Linked DNA regions of Homo sapiens: region 2 is linked to region 1. The links are contacts of gene promoters, found by promoter capture Hi-C in blood cells and fetal thymus (Javierre and others, 2016). All regions are on one chromosome and are shown on one strand. The core of a region is centred on a gene start or on the middle of the fragment in contact, and the rest is flanking DNA. Distances in the headings are between cores, read along the strand shown. Region 1 holds the start of DLG3 (discs large MAGUK scaffold protein 3). Region 2 overlaps TEX11 (testis expressed 11).

Evidence for each region. Contacts are between HindIII fragments. The CHiCAGO score rates a contact against its expected background, and 5 or more counts as called.
Region 2: a contact is called between a fragment that was not itself captured here and the fragment with the promoter of DLG3 in region 1, in 1 of 17 cell types (M2 macrophages). The highest score is 5.8, in M2 macrophages.

Annotation. Positions count from the first base shown.
Region 1 is chrX:70,442,638-70,447,089 of GRCh38, reverse strand. DLG3 (discs large MAGUK scaffold protein 3) reads right to left here and starts at 2,255. Exons shown (of 19, transcript NM_021120.4): 1 at 1,532-2,255. The coding sequence starts at 1,888. RefSeq lists an enhancer at 1,951-2,737. The HindIII fragment of the contact is 21,076 bases long and covers 1-4,452 here.
Region 2 is chrX:70,536,032-70,540,483 of GRCh38, reverse strand. The region is part of intron 28 of TEX11 (testis expressed 11); the gene reads left to right. Among named protein-coding and RNA genes, the nearest start is that of DLG3-AS1, 82 kb to the right of the region's middle. The HindIII fragment of the contact is 1,510 bases long and covers 1,636-3,145 here.

The sequences.
Region 1 (4,452 bases), core at 1,006-3,505:
GGACAAGCATAAGAGGGTGTTTGCGAGAGAAAGGCCTCCAGGACAGAGAGGGGGCAAAGGAGAGAGAGGGACTCGCTGGAAAGGGCAAGAGGCCAAGGCAAGGGATGTGGGAAAGCAGTAAGTGTGGACAGACAGAAGGCCAGAACTGAGGGCTCTTCTCCCCAGGAAGTCCCCACCTTTGCCTCTGAGTGAGAGCACATCCTATCCCCAGAGGACAGAGGCAGCCAGAACGGTCACCAGCTTGGGGAAGTCATCACCTGCCCTCGACAGCAAAGCCTCCTCTTCCTCTCTCCCCACCCTAGGAGCTGCAGAGCCGGATAACCAGACAGGCCCTCCGCCTTGCGTGCCAGGGACCTGGCTCTGCCAGCCCAGCCTCCATTTTGCTGCTTCTCCCACAGATGCTCCTTCCATTTTCTAAGCTGGCAGTTTAGGCTGGGAGTGGAAGCCGGAGTTGTGCCCAGCACCCAGGGGCTCCCAAGCTGTGCCAAGTCAGGGCTGGGGGGCTAAGCCCTCTCACATCTGGAGGTACCCAAGGGGGACATGCCCCACTGGGGCCAGTCTCTGCACCAGGGCAGCTGCCCCTTGCCGGCTCCAGGCACCATGCCTGCTCTAGAGCGAGGAGGCTTGCTTCAGTTCCTTCAAATCTCCCCCCGCCCCCCGCCACCCCACCCCGGCACACACACTACAGAGCTGCTTGGACAAAAGAGTCCGTCCTTCTCAGCAGCCTCTCAGCCTTGCTTGGGACATGTCTCTCGCCTCCTTCCTCTCCCCTCCCTTGCCTGTCAAGCGCCTCTCACCAGAGACAACACATACAAACACACACTCACACACACACACCAGGCACACGCGTGCACACTCTTGCAGCCACATGCTCACACACATATACATGTAGCCACACACACAAACACAGCCATCCCTGCAGCCTCCTCTACAGAGACCTCTCCACATTCAGAGTGACATCTCCACACATCCATGTGCACATTCACACACAAAGGGACTGGGACGGAGAGGGACTCATGGCATCAAGGGATGAAGCTCAGCGAGCCGGGCACATGGGCTCCTCCACACGGATTCACGGCAGCTCCATTGCCTTCCTCCACACACCCCAACATACATACACACACATATGTCCCCCCTACGCAGAGCACCATGCCCCCTCCCCTCCCCTCCGGTGGAGACACACACCACACACAGCCCCCGCAGAACCTCCCGCCCCCTGCCAGACACAGAGACATTGCCAAACCCCCACACTGAGACAAACCCAATTCCCCCACACAGGAAAATGTGCCCCTCCGCCATGCCCTTACCCCCTGACACACGGCTCCTCCCAGTCTTCTAATGGAGACCCCCAAACAGACACACACAGGGAACCACACATTTCCCACCGCCTCTCTTTGCCCAGCTGCAATGCTAGGGCTCGGGGTCCACAGGCTTGGAGCCCCAGCGACCCCTACTGCATCCCAGGCCTCTAGGCCCCCACTCTCCAGCCCTCCTGGGTTGCCCCACCGCTCCCCCCTCCGCTGGTCCATACCTGCTCATACCAGTCCCGGTTGGTACAGGTGCACTCTGGCCACCAGCTGGGGCCGCTGCCGTTGAGTTTGGGGGTGCTCTTGCCCGGGACTGGCTTAGGAGGCACCGGCCCCACATCCCGGCCGGTGGGGATGAGCTTGGCCTTGGTGCGAGGGGTGGGGGTGGCCCCCGCCTGCGAGGGCAAGGTCTGCGAGCTGTAGCCCCCATAACCCGCGCTGGCGCCGTTGCCCCCACCTGGCCCGTAAGGGTCGGGGACTTGCCAGTCGCCGTAGCCCGGAGGCTCGAGGCGCCGCAGGGCGGCCAGGCGGGTCACCTCATAGCACTCAGGGCACTTACAGCAGTGCTGGTGCTTGTGCATGGCACTGCCCCCCGCGGCTCGGACCCCCCAGCCCACGCCGGATTCCACGCCGCCGCCACCGCCGCCACCACCGCCGCCGCCGCCGCCGGGCTCCCTGGCACACTCACACTGCTCGGACCAAGAAGGGGGGGGCACCCGTGGGGGCGCCCGGGCTGAGCGGGGCCTGGGGCCGGGCGGGCGTCCCGGGGCCTCGGCCCCCACGCTGCCCCGCACCCACGGCTCCCCCTCCAGCACTGGCGGCTCCGTGTCGCCCGTCGTGGCTTCTGGGCCGAGGCCCAGCGGCAAAGAAGAAGCGGGAGCTCAAGCAGAGAATGGGTGCTGTGAGGACCGCTTCTGCTCTGGTCCCCAGGATGGATCTGAGTGGAGTCAAGAGCATCTCTCCCTGGCTCCCTTCTCAGTTGATTCCAGCCAATCAGCGCGCAGAGGCAGGCAGCGGCAGCGGCAGCGGCGGCGGCAGGAATGCTAAACAGCGGCTACTTAAAGGAACAGAGGCAGCGGCGCCCCCAGGCTCAGCCCCAGCTCCCCCAATCTCTAGGGAACTGTTGGCTCTAAGGGCGGGGGCAGAGGACGTGGGCCACCAGAAAGCTCAGGCACCCGATCTTGTGCCCTTATATCGCCAGTTTTAGCCTGTCCTCTGCCCACTCCACCCCACCCCACTTCCAAGAGGGAGTTGCAGGGAGATGTTCAATGGGTCCCCAGGCTTGCTCTGAGCTGGGGCCACCAGAAGTAAAGACGAGGTAGCAGGATGGACAGAAAGGACGTTGGAGCAGGGTGAGGGAGGTGCTTTCTCTTACAGGGGACCAAAGAAGAAGGCAGCATATGAGGCCCGCTGTCCTGTCAATGCCTCCTACACAAGACTATTGTTCTCTCAGTCTCTAGGCCCTGAAATTACTGTGACCTCACACTTGACCTTCTACCATCACCAGTAAAGAACTCAACCCTAGAACAGGGATTAACAGAAAGCTCTAAGTCCTTGTCCCTGGCCCACAAACCCCTATCTCCTCCACTCCACCCCTGCATGGTTATGATGGGGGAAGGAACTTCAGGATATCAAGATGAAAGTCCAGGACAGGTGAAAAGGTAAGAAGGGATTTGAAGAGAGAGAAACCCTTCTATGGGTCTGGAATAGAGCTTAGGAATACTTGTCCAAGGACATCTCCTTACCCTCTCCTGGCTCAGCTTGTCGGGGGAATGGAGGAAGGATGACATACAAGAAAGACTATCTTTTTTGCAGTTCTTGTTTTGTTTTTAGCTACCAATTATTGGGTCTTTACAAAGTCCTAAGTGCATAACACGCAAACCCAAATCCTACCAAGCTGATGCTATTATTATCTTCATTTTACCAATGAGAAATTGAGGCTCAAAGATGTTAACACAGCTAGGTAACACAGCTGGAAGTGACAGAATCAGGATGCAAATCCTGATTATTTGACTCCAGAGTCCACGCTGTGAACCACTCTAGTACGACAGGTCTATTCTAAGTTCTCCTGCAGAATTTACATCTCAGTTCAATTCAGCAAATATTCATTGAGCACCTGCTCTGTGCAAGACCTTGACCTAGGTATTAGGGATACAGAGGTTCTTTTTTTTTTTTTTTTTTTTTTTTGAGATGGATTCTCATTCTGTCACCCAGGCTGGAGTGCAGTGGCGTGATCTCAGCTCACTGCAACCTCAGCTTCCCAGGTTCAAACGATTCTCCTGCCTCTCAGTCTCCCTAGTAGCTAGGACTACAGGCTCCTGCCACCACGCCCGGCTAATTTTTGTATTTTCTTAGTAGAGATGGGGTTTCATCACGTTGGCCAGGCTGGTCTCGAACTCCCGACGTCAAGTGATCCACCCACCTTGGCCTCCCAAAGTGCTGGGATTGCAGGTGTGATCCACTGTGCCCGGCCCTCAGAGATTCATTCTTAATTCAACAAATATGCGTGGAACACTTGCTGTGTGCCAGACACTGTTGTAGGATTTGGGGATATAGCAGGAAACAAAATAAAACAGAACAAACAGAACAAATCCCTGCCCTTGGGGAGCTTACCTCCTAGTGAGAGGACACAGACAAAAATAAACACAATAAATAAGTGAATTATGTAGTACAGTAGGTCCTCATTTAACATCATTGGTAGGTCCTTGGCAACTGGGACTAAGTGAAACAACGTATAACAAAACCAATTTTACCACAGGCTAATTAATATAAACAAGAGCTAAGTTCCTACAGCATATTTCTGGTCACAAAACATCACCCAGCTTCCAAATAAAGACCCAAAACACTTCTGATATTGAACATTGAAATAAATATGAGCTATGCATACATATAGAAAGATTAATGAAAACAAGTAAATAATTACCTAACCTTTGGTGAACCAGTGAGTGACAGCAGTGGAAGTGGTGGTGGGTTGAATCAAGGAATAAATGTATGCAAAGCGAAAATTGTAAGGAGCACCTCCCTACCACCATGCAGTTCAAAAGCAAACAATCACGAATATGGTGAGCTCGATGAGCACTTTCTTACCTCATAGTTTATTGTGCATTTGTATGATTATCAACTACTTGACAAATTTTTATTTTAC
Region 2 (4,452 bases), core at 1,141-3,640, 93 kb before region 1:
AACAATTGAAAAAAAAAGAAAGTAAAGTGGTAGTCACCAAGGACTGGGGTTATTACATAATGGGTACAGATCTTTAGCTTTGCAAGATGAAACTGGTTCTGGAGATGGATGGTAGTGATGATAGCACAACAATGTGAATGTACTTAACGCCACTAAACTGTTCACTTAAAATGATTAAGATGGTTAAATTTTGTGCTATATGTATTTTACCCCATTTTTTAAGTCATAGAAAAGAATCTTTGTCAGGTATCGTAACATTTCTGTCATCTCAGTGTTGGCATCAATTCATTGTCTTTTTTCGTTATTTGAGATCTTCCTGATTATTGGTATAATGAGTAAATTTGTTAAACCTGGACAATTTCATATTTTGTTCTGAGACTCTGGATCTCATTTAAACCTTCTGTTTTAACTTGGTTTCTCTGACCTGCTTTAGCAAGGGAGTGGGCCCAGCCTTGTTACTTCCAGGTAGAAGTAGAAACAAGCCTAAGTTTCTAACTTGACCTCCATCATTGATACTCAAGGTAGAGGACTCCTTTTTACTACTGGTCCCTTGGCTAGAGACAGCAGACTTTTCTTGGGGCTTTTTTCTTTCTTTTTCTTTTTGGGTCTATGTCTGTTGGCATCTCTAGCACCAAGTTTGGGGTATATGAAGCAAAAAGAAAACCCAGAGAACTTATCACTGTGTCAATCCTTGGCTCCAAGGTCTTCCCTTTCTCTACACCTTTCAGAGGTTTCTTATGTTTGTTTTATGTATAATGTTCAAGAGTTAGTTTTATTTAGCAGGAAGAATAGGGATAAGTACATTTATTCCATCTCATGGAAGTGGAAATTTCTTGGTTCATTTTTAAGAATATACAAAGACTTAAATAATGGTGGGGGGGAAACCTACACTTAAAGAGAAGGGACAAACCTAATCCTCACAGCTGATGTCAGAGTCACAGAGTCACAAAGGCGTTTTGTAACCAAGAAGCCCAGAAGAACACAGACTCTTTCCTTTTACAAGGGAAGCTAAGGTGATTCAAACTACTGAGCTACATTCTCTAAGAGTTTGCTTCCCAAAGCGTGATCAGCATCCCCTAGGAGCTTGTTAGAAGCATGGAATCTTAGGCCCCAGACCTACTGAATCAGTCTGCGTTTTAACTATACTTCCGGCCGGGCACGGTGGCTCATGCCTGTAATCCTAGCACTTTGGGAGGCCGAGGCGGATGGATTACTTGAGGTCAGAGTTCAAAACCAGCCTGGCCATCATGGTGAAACCCTGTCTCTACTAAAATTACAAAAGTTAGCCGGGCGTGGTGGTAGGCGCCTGTAATCCCAGCTACTTGGGAGGCTGAGGCCGAAGAATTGCTTGAACCTAGGAGGCGGAGATTGCAATGAGCCAAGATCACACCACTGCACTCCAGCTTGGGCAACAGAGTGAGACTCCATCTTAAAAAAAAAAAAAATATATATATATATATATATTTCCAAGTGTCTTGTATGCACATTAAAGTTTGAGAAGGTCATTTATCAGTATCTTTTGTCTCTTGTTTGGCCTTCTACTTGTTCAATTTCATCTCAGTTCCTACTTCTGCCAATCTTATATAAGTTCATAGATTAGGCAATTGGGATCTAAAGGAAATATAAGGTAAAGCTTCATTCAATGACTGAGAAAATTTAGAACTGGAAACTAATGATCTTTGCAGTTACCTAATTTAAGCTCATTATTTTGCAAATTGAGGCATTGAAAGGTTAAATATCTGACACAAGGTCATACCACTATATAATGGCAAAGCTAAAAATTGCAGCCGTGTTATTTCTTCATAGGACAATGGTCCTTGGGTTTTCTTTCATCTATTTTTTAATAAAATTTTTTTAATTGAGAGGAGGTCTTACTATGTTGCCCAGGCTGGTCTCAAATTCCTGGGCTCAAGCAATCCTCCTGCCATGTCCTCTCAAAGTGCTGGGATTACAGGTGTGAGCCCCTGCACCCAGCCTTCTTTCATCTAAATCTTCCTCCTTCCAAGCCTCACGTCTCCCTGAGACTGGAATTGAGGTTCATACAAAGCCATCTTTGAGTCAGACTTTGATATTGTGTCTCTCCTACAGCTTTGTAGTTTCCTAATTGGTCTCTGGCTCTTTCTTCTCTTCTCCATTTTTTCCTGTTCATCCCTATCAAATATATCTCCGTAAAACACAACTTTTGCTCTATCACTCCCTTTCCCTCAAATCTTTTAACAACTCTGTATTTCCCAAATCCTTACCTAGACCCTTAAGGCTATCTATCCATAACCTCATTCAACCCCCAAAACAAGACAGAGTTTTTCCCAGGCAATAGTCAATATTCTCTTTATCATCAACCTTCACCTCCTTCTCTCCCTTCTTCTTAGAACAAAGCAGAATCTTCCCTGAAGAAAACGTGTCCCTCACTACGAATTTTTATGGAGGTCTCATCTTTTCCAACTCCCTTTTTCTCAGCAGAAGGGACTAAATTACCTGGATCTTTGCTCCATGGTGGCACTTTGTACTATTTATATACCACCTTCCTACGGCTTCTCTTCACTTAAAACCTATATCTCTTCATCACCAATGTTGTCATGTCCTGGACCCACCTTTTCCTTCCTTGGTAACTTCATTGTTATTTATTATCCTAAGTGACTTTGGCATCCATGTTAGCAATTCTTGTACCTCACAGTTTCCGTTTTTCACTTTTTAGCCACTGTCTACCTCCCATATAAGCCACCCACTGTGGCACTGCTCCATCTTCAAGATTGGTAACTAACGCAACACTTTTCTATTGAGTCTAATCTCCCTTACTTCCCCATATCTATTCTCTGTTCTCACTTGAACTTCAAATCACTCGTCTTTTCCCACTCTATTATAGTCCAGTCTAACTACCTTTTTTTTCTTTTTCTCTTTCTTTTCCTTTCTTTCTTTCTCTTTTCTTTATTTCTTTATTTGCTTCCTTCCTTCTTCCCTCCCTTCTTTCCTCCCCTTCCTTCTCTCTTTCTCTCTTCTTTTGATTATTCCTGCTGTTTCATTTTTTTCCAAACCTGGTACCTTGCCACCATCAGTTCTTCTGCTCCTGATCTTGAGCAGCAGAAGCACTAAAGAAAGTTACAGAACCATCTAGATCTGGCCCAGTACAGATTCATTCTGTTAAGCTTTCAGTGGGTTCTCATTGCTGCTCAGAAATTCTTTTATTCTTGTCAACTTTTTGGCAAACTCAAGTAAAGTGGCTGCTTCAAACCTTTTCTAATCTCGTAAAAACTTAGACCTACCTCATTCCCCATTAGATGATCTCATCATATCATTTCAGTTGAGAAGATCAAGGGCATCACATATGAGATCCCTCATTGGCCCATGTCTCAACCATAACATTCTACCACTGTACCTACCTACTCACCTTTCCTCTTTTTTCAAAAGAAATTTTCTCAACCTTGCACTGTCAGTTCAATCCCCTTCTACTTCCTGAGGCATTTTACTGCCTGTCCATCATTTTTACTCTCTGCCTACAGATGGTTCCATTCTGCTTTCAAGAATGCATAAGTCTCAAACAAATGGAAATATATACCATGTTCTTGGACAGGAAAGCCCTAACAGTATAAAGTCAGTTTCCCTAAATTCAATGCAATAAATTCAGTCAAAATTAAAATCTCAATAGGATTTTTAATGAAACTTGATGATTCTAAAATTCTTCCCTAAAAGAAAATGAACCAAAACATTTTTTGTAAAAGAACAAGGAAGGACTTGCCTTATCAAATACTTTTAAAACTATAAAATGATATTAATTTTAAAAGTATGGCATTAGTGCAAAAATCTACAAAGAGATTAATAGAACAGGACTGAGCCCAGAAGGAGATCCACATATCTATGAGAATTTTGTATGCAATGGAAAAGGTATATCACATCACTGAGGGAACAATTGGTAAAATGGTATTGGGACAATTTAAAAAGCAAAGTTACGTCCTTATTTTTAAACTGAGGGGCGTTATAGCATAGTGGTTAAGAGAACAGACTTTGGAGCCACATAACCAGTTCAAATAAATTCTGGCTACACCATTTATTAGCTGTATGACTTTGGTCTTATTAATTAATTATGTATACCTCTGTATCCTCATCTGTAAAATAAATATAATAATAATCTCAGCACTTTGGGAGGCAAAGGCAGGAGTATCGCTTGAGGCCAGAAGTTCAAGACCAGCCTGGCCAACATAGCGAGATCTTGTCTCTATGAAAAATAAATAAATAAATAAAAGCTAAAAAAAGTGCCTACCTTACAGTATTATTAGTATTAAATAACTTAATATATATAAAGTACTTATAGCAGCACATAGTAAGTACTATATAAGTGATAGTATTATTTTTTTGCCTTATACCATGCACAAAAATAAAGTCCAAAAGGAAGAAATAAAGAAAATCCAGATAGATTAAAGAGCTAAACATAAAATCAAAGCTATAAAAGCATTAGGA